Regions from separate parts of the Homo sapiens genome. Here region 1 is linked to region 2. The links are contacts of gene promoters, found by promoter capture Hi-C in human tissues and cell types (Jung and others, 2019). All regions are on one chromosome and are shown on one strand. The core of a region is centred on a gene start or on the middle of the fragment in contact, and the rest is flanking DNA. Distances in the headings are between cores, read along the strand shown.

The links. The method cuts DNA at HindIII sites, captures the fragments that hold promoters and counts their contacts. A contact is called where the count stands out against the background at its distance.
Region 1: a fragment that was not itself captured here is called in contact with the fragment with the promoter of RS1 in region 2 in 6 of the 25 tissues and cell types used here (H1 embryonic stem cells, aorta, bladder and 3 more).

The regions. Positions count from the first base shown.
Region 1 is chrX:18,831,953-18,837,213 of GRCh38, forward strand. LOC124905254 (a long non-coding RNA gene) reads left to right here and starts at 173. Exons shown (of 2, transcript XR_007068404.1): 1 at 173-220; 2 at 1,158-3,795. It also overlaps the pseudogene BLOC1S6P1. RefSeq lists an enhancer at 1,063-1,986. The HindIII fragment of the contact is 5,178 bases long and covers 1-4,783 here.
Region 2 is chrX:18,669,964-18,674,993 of GRCh38, forward strand. It overlaps RS1 (retinoschisin 1), which reads right to left and starts at 2,145. Exons shown (of 6, transcript NM_000330.4): 1 at 2,054-2,145. The coding sequence starts at 2,105. TRV-TAC1-2 (tRNA-Val (anticodon TAC) 1-2) reads right to left here and starts at 5,018; the gene lies at 4,946-5,018. RefSeq lists a silencer at 4,943-5,030. The HindIII fragment of the contact is 16,600 bases long and covers 1-5,030 here.

The DNA of each region.
Region 1 (5,261 bases), core at 945-3,444, 160 kb after region 2:
ACAACCTAGAATGACTTGTGGGCCTGCCCCAGGGCATTCCAATAAGCAACCCCTAAAACTGCGGTTTCGAAAAACTAGTTGTCATTTGTGCAAATGATCAAAACATTGAAAAAGGGACTGCTCCCAAAGAACTTGAGAGAAGCCCTTAAAAACAAGCTGCCTACCTCTGATCATCTCTATGTTAACCACCAAGACTGACAGGCCTCCGAAGACAGCTCTGGTAAGTTTCTACTGGTTAGTTTTTGCCCTGTTTGTTAAAAAGCTCTGCCCTGAAGGCAATGATCTAAGTAAGGAACAGGATTTTGAAATTCTTTCTAAGAGAAATTTATATCTGTAAAGGAAATCTCCATTTGTAAGGCTATCTCCCTCTCTGCACCTAAACCATTAGAAACTTTTACAATGAGAAAGGCACTGGCTTAAAAGCTTGCATATCAACGTTTACCTTTGTTTAAGTTGCTTTTCCTGTCCATCTTTTTTTTTTTCTGAGATGGAGTCTTGCTCAGTCGCCCAGGCTGGAGTGCGGTGGCGTGATCTTGGCTCACTGCAAGCTCTGCCTCCCGGGTTGGTTCACCCCATTGTCCTGCCTCAGCCTCCCCAGTAGCTGGGACTACAGGTGCCGGCCACCATGCCCGGCTAATTGTTTTTGTATTTTTAGTAAAGACGGGGTTTCACAGTATTAGCCAGGATAGTCTCGATCTCCTGACCTCGTGTTCCGCCCACCTCGGACTCCCAAAGTGCTGGGATTACAGGAGTGAGCCACCGCGCCCGACCGGGCAAATGAATCTTAATGAAAGCAATAAGATCTGCTTCTTTCTGTGTGTATGTTTGTATATCTATGTGTTATGTGTATCTGATATTTTCATACCAAAATATATAAAAGAGCTCTATTTAATTGGCTTAAAGAAAAAGTGTTTAAAGTCATTAATTATAAAGCAAGCATATTTTTCCCCTAAATTTACTAGTCAAACAAGCTTATTACCTCTTAGATGTATAATAAAGCTATAAAGCCAACCAAAGAGCAAAATACATGAAAAAAAAAAAAATCTTGATACCTATCAGTCATGGTGATACAGAAGGGCTGGGCTCCTGGCTAAACCCAACCCATAAGCCTGGAACCTTGGCCCTAAGTGAAAACAGCTGACCCCGTTTTTTTCCAGCCAAATGTTGCCGTTTTTGGCCTGCCCTGCCCCTATCCTTTGCCGATGAAAGACTTCAGCTGGCAGAGCAACACAAGTGGCTGAATGTCAAGGATACAAGCAGCTGAGTGGTGAGCAGAGAAGCAGTGCGCGTCAGAGACTATGGATAGACACGGCTAACTTCAGGCGGTGCGGCTTCGGAGAGGAGCCCAGCCAGAGACGGCCGGGCTTCAGGGAAAGATCACCCTCCCATCCCCTTTCCAGCCTCCCTTTCTGCTGAGAGCCACCCACCGCTCAATAAAGTCTGCATTCATCACCTTTCTAACAGTTCATCGGACATGAACCCAGGTTCTGAGAGGGCAGGGTTTGCCACCCTGACCCTCCACTGACCTGGTTGGCACTTGGCCATCCCCGGATGGCAGAACTGAAAGAGCATTGGTCGTAACATGCTTGGACGCTGCTGCAGGGCCCACAAGAGCCTGCTCCCACCAGAGAAGAGTGACCAGTCGGTCCCAGGATTCATTTGCTCTGGTTCCTGCACTCACTCGCTTGCACGCTCCCTCCTGCCAAGAGTAGCCAGTGCGGGCTGAGTGGAATGAGCTACTCCAGTTTCCGCCCACGAAGGAGTTCAAGAGAACTAACCCGTCCCAATAGGAAAGGGAAAAAAAGCAGAGTGGAAGAACCATGTTTAACCTATTAATCTTTTTGCTTCTGTAATACTTATAGTTTCCTGATTTTTTTGAAAAATAACTTGAGGTGATGGCTAGCTTTGCTTAATGAACAACTCAAGCATAATTGTTAAAAATGAGTAAATTAGGTGTATGTAAATGGTATACAAATTGATAAATGAACTTTTCAGTTTTGAAAACCTTTTACCGTAACTTAAAGTCCTGTTATGATTAAGTAATATTCATGAACTGTCTGAGTCATTTCCAATTAAGTTAGAATACTGAAACATTAATTTGAACGTAACTTTAAATTTATTTTTGGCTTCTTAAATTTTATAGAAAGACTAAATATGGCTGGGTGCAGTGGCTCATGCCTGTAATCCCAGCACTTTGGGAGGCCGAGGTGGGCGGATCACGAGGTCAGGAGTTCCAGATCAGCCTGGACAACATGGTGAAACCCCGTCTCTACTAAAAATACAAAAATTTGCTGGGCGCGGTGGTGGGCTTCTGTAATCCCAGCTACTCAGAGGCTGAGGCAGGAGAATTGCTTGAACCCAGGAGGTGGAGGTTGCAGTGAGATCGCGCCACTGCACTCCAGCCTGGGTGACAGAGCAAGACTCTGTCTCAAAAAATAAGATAAAATAAAGACTGAATATATTTTAGTCTATTTAAAGAAAAGCTATGGAAAAATAAATATATTTTGGTCTGTTAATATGAAAAATTGTACTTTGAGAAAGTGCATATTTCTAGAAATTATGAAACTTAATTTATAGAATACTGATTCACAATTGCTAAGGATTAAAAATTCCAATAATAAAACTACTATAAAGGAATTCTGTATGCAAACTAAAGAAAGTAAGATGTGTTTTGGTGAGGAAAAAATAGAAGGATACTTTTTTCTTAAAAAGAATAATTTTGTCTAATTTGGAGGTTATTTAAAAGTTGTTTCAAAATAAGGATTTTGGAAGGAAATAGAAATGAGGTAGGGAGGAACCAGTAAGAGGGATGTCAAGAAAGTTACAAGTATGAAAACGTATGTTTGGCTTAAAAAAAAGTTGAAAAGAGAAAAAGTAATTTTTTTTTTGTATGAGGAAGAATTTGTGTTGTCAAAATGATAAGGGAAAAAGGAAAGTAAATTTTTGTCATAAAGTAGAATGATTGGTTGTTCCAATATGAAAAAGAAGGAAGTATAGAACAAAACTGAAGGTTTAAGCAAGTTGTACAAGATTTGAGCAAGTTCTAAGAGATCTGAGCAAGTTGTAGGTGTGTAGGAGATGAATCCTATGAAAAGAATTTTGTAGGCCAGGCGAGGTGGCTCACACTTGTAATCCCAGCACTTTGGGAGGCCGAGGTGGACGGATCACTTGAGGTCAGGAGTTCGAGACCAGCCTGGCCAACATGGCAGAACCACGTCTCTGCTAAAAATAAAAAAATTAGCTGGGTGTGGTGGTGCATGCCTGTAATCCCAGCTACTCGGGAGGCTGAGGCAGGAGAATCACTTGAACCCGGGAGGCAGAGGCTGCAGTGAGCCGCAACTGCGCCATTGCACTCCAGCCTGGGTGACACAGCAAGACCCTGTCTCAAAAAAAAAGAATTTTGTATGTGATCAAGTTGGCAAAAATTGGAAGGGAATTATTTATAGGGTTTTCTAAAAATTAAGCTTTGAGATCAAAAGTACACTAATACAAAACTAAAATTTAGTCCCCTATGTTAAAACAAGGTTTTCTTAGAGTATTCATCTTTTTTTTTTTTCCGGAGACCTTTTTTTGTATTAAATGTGTAAACAGTAGTCCTCATTTTACAAATTCAAAATCAGACAAATGTATGAGGGTGTATAATTGGTATATTTATAAACTGTATCACCCAAAAAACCACTGCGATCACAATCTATATTACATTCAACGTTTGCGTATTTACATGATACTTACTGCAAAGTAAATACAAAATGAACTCCCATCATCTTAGTTCAGAACACAGGTGATATAATTTCAGAACAAAGGCAGTTTTTTCAACAACAACAACAACAAAAAAACAGAAGTCTCCCAAGTACCAATTCGCTATTTTGTGGAAAAATACAGAAAGACTAATTATGAGTTCCATTCAGGTTTAGTCAGTAAGATATGTTGTTTGTTTTTTTTAGAGACAGGGTCTCACTCTGTCATCTGGGCTGGAGTGCAGTGGTGCAATTATAGCTCACTGCAGCCTCGAACTCCTGGGCTCAATGAGTCCTCCCACCTCAGCCTCCTAAAGCACTGGGATTACATACATGAGATACCACACTCAGTCTAGTAAGATATGTTTTTGTTATTGAAATACAGCTAAAGTTATAGATTTTAATCACCAAGATAACAGTACTTCTGGTTTATAATCGACCTTAAGATAGTGGATACTAATATATATACATTTTGACATTTTTTTAAAAAGTCTTCAAAACTTAATACAATTCTGAAAGTATATGTACCTTGCCATCCGTTCAATAAACATGATTTATTTTTATACAGGTCACAAAATTTCAATTAACTAGAATTCTATATCTATTGCCTGCCTGCTAGGTTTCAGTCTTAAGTCTGACTATATCAAAAACAGCAGTTCAGAATTTATTTCATAAAATTAATCCCAAAAGTTACTGGGTAGCTTTTAAAGTATTTTATTGTTTATAATACAACTCACTAGATAGTCTATACCGGTGGCTCCTGACATCAGAATTATCTGGGGAGCTCTTTAAAAAATACATGGGATCCACATCATAGCTAATTACACTAAAAGAATTGAGAATGTCTGTATTTTTTAATGTTCCCAGGTGATAATGCTGTGCAGCCTAGTGTGGGAAACCCTGACCTACCACTGAGCCTGTGGTTCTCAATTTTTCAGGTGCATTGGAATCACTGGGGGAAACTTTAAAAACTAAAAGCAAGGCAAAACAAAAAACCAGATGTGCTTCAGTAGATTGAGAGTAGTGTGCAGGAACCAGCATCTGAAACAACCATTGCAGTTGGTCCAAAATGACCCAGAAACACTGCACCCCCTCTGTCAGATATCACATTACAATGAGTACATTCAGCAATTTAGGTGACATTGTCCTGCAAGCCCTAATGAATCCTGCCCTAGGCAGTTTTAGCAAGTGTTTGAGGGCACCACTCAGCCTTTTCAAAGAAAATATATTTATACTCTTAAATATTAGGTCAAAGTCAACTGAATTGTGAGATCATCATTCATTAAAGAAGACAAATGCCCTTTCAAACAATTTAAACTTTTTTTTTTTTTTTTTTGAGACAGAGTCTTGCTCTGTCACCCAGGCCGGACGCCAATGGTGCCGTTTCAGCTCACTGCAACCTCCGCCTCCCGGGTTCAAGCAATTCTTCTGCCTCAGCCTCCCAAGTAGCTGGGACTACAGGTGCGTGCCACCACACCTGGCTAATTTTTGTATTTTTGGTAGAGATAGGGTTTCACTATGTTG
Region 2 (5,030 bases), core at 895-3,394:
GCTCTTCGTGGACATTTCTGGAGCTCCCCAGCCATGCACAAAGATTGGTAAACTTTAGAACACGAAAGAGTGCTATCCTTCATGCCTCCTGACAGCCTGTCTTTTATTGCTGATATCCACTAACTGGGCAGGTCTAATTTTAAAATGCTTTGGTAAACATTTCTAGGACTTCTTCGCATCGCGGGGGTGGGGAGGTCACAGAACAGGGTTGTTAGACTCAGCACTGTGGAAGAAACAAGGATGCCCTGCATGTCAAGTCCTTTTTTTTTTTTTTTTTTTTGAGACTGAGTCTCGCTCAGTCACCCAGGCTGGAGTGCAATGGCATGATCTCAGCTCACTGCAACCTCCCTCTCCAGCAATCAGACGATTCTCCCGCTTCAGCCTCCCCCGAGTAGCTGGGATTAGAGGCACCTGCCATCATGCCCAGATACTTTTTGTATTTTTGTAGAGACGGGGTTTCACCAGGTTGGGCAGGCTGGTCTCAAACTCCTGACCTCAGGTGATAGACCCGCCTCAGCCTCCCAAAGTGCTGGGATTACAGTCATGAGCCACCGCGCCCCGCCGTCATACACAATGTTTGCCCCCTAGCAGATAGTCAGGGATGAGCTCTTAAAAGAAGGGACCAAGGAATGAATGAATGAATCTCCATGCCAATCACAAAGAAGAGAAATCCGAGAGTGAGCCCTGGGAGTGTCTGACAACCAGGAGTATTTAGATCTAAGCCTTGAAAGAGTCTGCTTAGATTTTCTTGCTGAGGAAAGAGGAGGGGGCAAGGAGTAAAAGGAAAAACAACAAAACCCCAAAGCATCTTAAAGTAGTCAGAGTTACTGGGACAAGTTGCAGACTATTAATTGCAAGGGGAAAAAATCCTAACAGACAACTGGTTTACATGATCCCTACTTAGAAATATACCTTGGGGTTTGCAGAATGACCTTGGAATTATATTGTCACCAGTCTTTCCAAATACTGAGAAATGTGACTAAGTAACAAAAGTCATCAGCCTGGGAAACATGGTGAAAACCCCTCTCTACAAGAAATACAATAAATTAGCCGGATGTGGTGGTGCGTGCCTGTAGTCCCAGCTACTAGGGAGGCTGAGGCAGGAGGATGGCTTGAGCCTGGGAGGTTGAGGCTACAGTGAGCCGTGAAACCAAGAATTCTGATTCTACTTGTGTGAGTTTCGCTGTGTCTGTCTACCAGGTCATTTGCAGAGCACAGAGACCTCCTTCTCCCTGCTTTTTAATTTATTTTCTATAACACACAAATACACGATGTCCACAAAGAAGACAGGCAACCAATTTCTAACATCTGGATGAACCTGAGGAGAAATTCTGAGCAGATGGGTACTTGAGAATTGAGAGAGGCATGAAAGAATATTATTTCAAAGATTGAGAGGGAATTGGAACTGGATGACATTTTACAGATTTGCCCTTATTTTTTCCTAATTGAAGCATATCACTTCTGCTAGGGTCATATTTAGAAATTTTAAAATGAGTGAGTGTACTGAGTCTCCGAGGTTTCCTGACTCTCAGTTGGATTATGTTTTTTATTAGATTCCAGTGGTACTGGGTATGTTACGTTAATCCATATTTAAACTAGGTTGACCTTACACCCCAATTTGCCCTGGATGGTCCTGGGTTACACCTGTCGTCCCAACAGAATTATTAATAGCATCGTCCTCCACCGTCAATAGCATTCCGGTTTGGAATATTAAATTCTACAATCACTCCCACTTTGACTCCTAAAAGTTTTCCAGAATATGCCATACTTTCTCATTAATTGTTGCAACTTATGGCTATTTTATAGATTTCTGAGACCCATCCTGTTTTCTGTTGGATTTTAAGCATCCTTTGAACTTTAGAAGGCTCCTCACAGAACTGGAAAGCCATCCACACAAAGACAACTGTTGTTCATTAATAACACATGTTAGTTAATTAACGTGTTGCTAATTAATAATATTTATATTATTCAGGCTATATTCCTATTTATCAACGATATTAATTAAATTATGTATTAAGTATGCAATGAATGTCAATGGTTGAATAGCACATACCTTCATAGCCAAAGAGAAGTAATAACAAAAAGCCTTCTATCTTGCGTGACATCTTCCCCTCGTCCTCGGCCAAAGCTCTACCTTACTGAACTGGAGAGCTGGCCCAGGAGCAGGGGATTAAGTTGAGCCCTGGCCTCATTAAGCATCTTAATCCATTTAGTTCTTAGGTCTTTGGCTGAGCCCCATCAAGTTAACCCACAGAGTTACCTGCCTCAACAAGGAAGTCTCATGGAAGATACTAGCATCAACTGAGATTCAGTTCGCGAGGAAGATACTTTTCGTTCTTTTTTTTTTTTTTTTTTTTTTTTTTGAGATGGAGTTTCGCTCTTGTCACCCAGGCTGGAGTGCAATGGCGCCATCTCGGCTCACTGCAACCTCTGCCTCCCGGGTTCAATCTAGTCTCCTGCCTCAGCCTTCCGAGTAGCTGGGATTATAGGCTCACGCCACCACGCCCAGCTAATTTTTGTATTTTTAGTAGAGATGGGGTTTCGTCATGTCAGTCAGGCTGGTCTCGGACTCCTGACCTCAGGTGATCCACCCACCTCGGCCTCCCAAAGTGCTGGGATTACAGGCGTCAGCCACTGCGCCCGGCCCATACTGTTCATTCTATCTTAATGTAAGGGAAGCAATGGAGGGAGAGAACTACAACCAGAAGTCTCAGGTTTTCGTCCTTTCTTCGCCATCATTTTTTAGGGGGTGACCTTGAACAATTTCCTGCCACATAAGCACTAACATTCTCGAATTGTATGAAAATGTCATGGATTCCCCTCTTTGAAAGCAACTAGGCATCATGTGCACACCTATTCACTCAGGAAAATGCTAAATTTGGTGGTGGTGGGAGGACAGTTAACACAAAGCTGTGCATTGCTGTGTTACTTTTAACAACAACAAATTGGAAACAATCTAAATGGCCAAGGTTAGGGGGCTGGTTAAGTAAATCAAGAGATGAGTGCAGCCTGGTAGGTTTAAGAGCACAGACTGCCAACCCAGACTGGGTGCCAAATCGCAGCACTAGCACTTGTTACATTGTGACCTCAGGGCAAGTTATTAATATCTCTGCGCCTAAACTTTCTCATCTGTAAGATGATGATAATAATGCCTACTTTCGAGAGTTATTTTGAGGCTTACAAGAGATCATATGTATAAAATACTTAGCACAGTGCTAGACATAATTAGCTATTATTTTTACATCACCATTCAGAATAAAGTTGATGGGAGGAAAAGGGGAGTTGTTTAATAGGTATAGAGTTGAGTTTTGCAAGATGAAAAAGTTCCCGAGATCTGTTTCACAACAATGTGAATATACTTAACACTACTGAACTGTACACTTAAAAATGATTATGGTGGGCTGGAGGTGGTGGCTCACACCTGTAATCCCAGCACTTTGGGAGGCCAAGGCAGGCAGATCACTTGAGGTCAGGAGTTCGAGACCAGCCTGGGCAACATGGCGAAACCTCGTCTCTACCAAAAATACAAAAATTAGTCGGGCGTGGTGGCGTGCACCTATAATCTCAGCTACTCGGGAGGCTGAGGCAGGAGAATCGCTTGAACCCAGGAGGCCGAGGTTTCAGTGAGCCGAGATTGTACCACTGCACTCCAGCCTGGGTGACAGAGCCAGACTCTGTCTCAAAAAAAAAAAAAAATGGTTAAGGTGGTTTTAAAAAAGGCCGGGCACGGTGGCTCAAGCCTGTAATCCTAGCACTTTGGGAGGCCGAGGCGGGCGGATCACGAGGTCAGGAGATCGAGACCATCCTGGCTAACACGGTGAAACCCCGTCTCAACTAAAAATACAAAAAATTAGCCGGGCGAGGTGGCAGGCGCCTGTAGTCCCAGCTACTCGGGAGGCTGAGGCAGGAGAATGGTGTGAACCCGGGAGGCAGAGGTTGCAGTGAGCTGAGATCACGACACTGCACTCCAGCCTGGGCGACAGAGTGAGACTCCGCCTCCAAAAAAAAAAAAAAGAATAAAGTTGATGAAGTGATTGTAATAACAGGGAAAGAGTTACACTCAAGTTAGAAAAAGACGCAAATTTCTACACTGTTAAGGATGCATAACTAGGTTGAAAATGCAGAGAAAAATACTGAGTGCCCCTTCCCATTTTATATTTTTTGCTACCACCATCTCACCATGGCCCACACCCTCATTCCTCTTGTCAAAGATAAAAAAGCCAATATTTAAACAAATAATAAACTCCCCAAAGGAAACTGTAATGAAATAGTAAAGAGGAACAGAAAGAAACTAGAGAAACGTTTGCTCATTCAACCAGTATTTATTGAATGTCTACAAGCCTGACATTTATTTTATACTGTGTATGAACTCTATTCCACAAATTCTACTGCTGCATTAAAAGGGACTGTGGGGTTTTTTTTTTTTCGTGCTCTGCACATCAGAGTTTAATGAAAAATAGAACTTTTAATCAGAGTCATAATCATGACCGACCTTTAATAATTCACCTGCAGTCAAAGCGCTGCTGTATTGCCTGCCACATTTTAGTTGGAGGTTGGGTGGCCGGCCCTTGCTGGCTTGCAGGCAAAGGGCAGCCAGGTGCATTCCCCGAGCGCCCGATTTTCCGAGGCGTACTGGGAGGAGAGGTGGGGTAGGGCCCGGCCGGATCGGGGGCGCCGGATCGGGTCTAGGACTTCGCCCGGCCCCTGCCCTCCACTACTTCTCATGTCGGACTATGGCGGCAGTGACCTTGTGGGATAGGAGAGGGTATCTGTCATTTCACTTCTGCGAGAAAAACATGCCAAAAAATTAAAAAGAAAAAAAGGACAAAGAAAAACACTTCGTTGTCGCTTTTTGGTTTTTTTTGTTTGTTTAACCCAAACCCTTTTTTTTTTTTAACCCAAACAACGAAACCCTATAAAAGCAAAAACAGCCGCCTTACGGCTATGGTTCCACTGGGGCTCGAACCCAGGACCTTCTGCGTGTAAAGCAGACGTGATAACCACTACACTATGGAACCTCTACGAGGAAG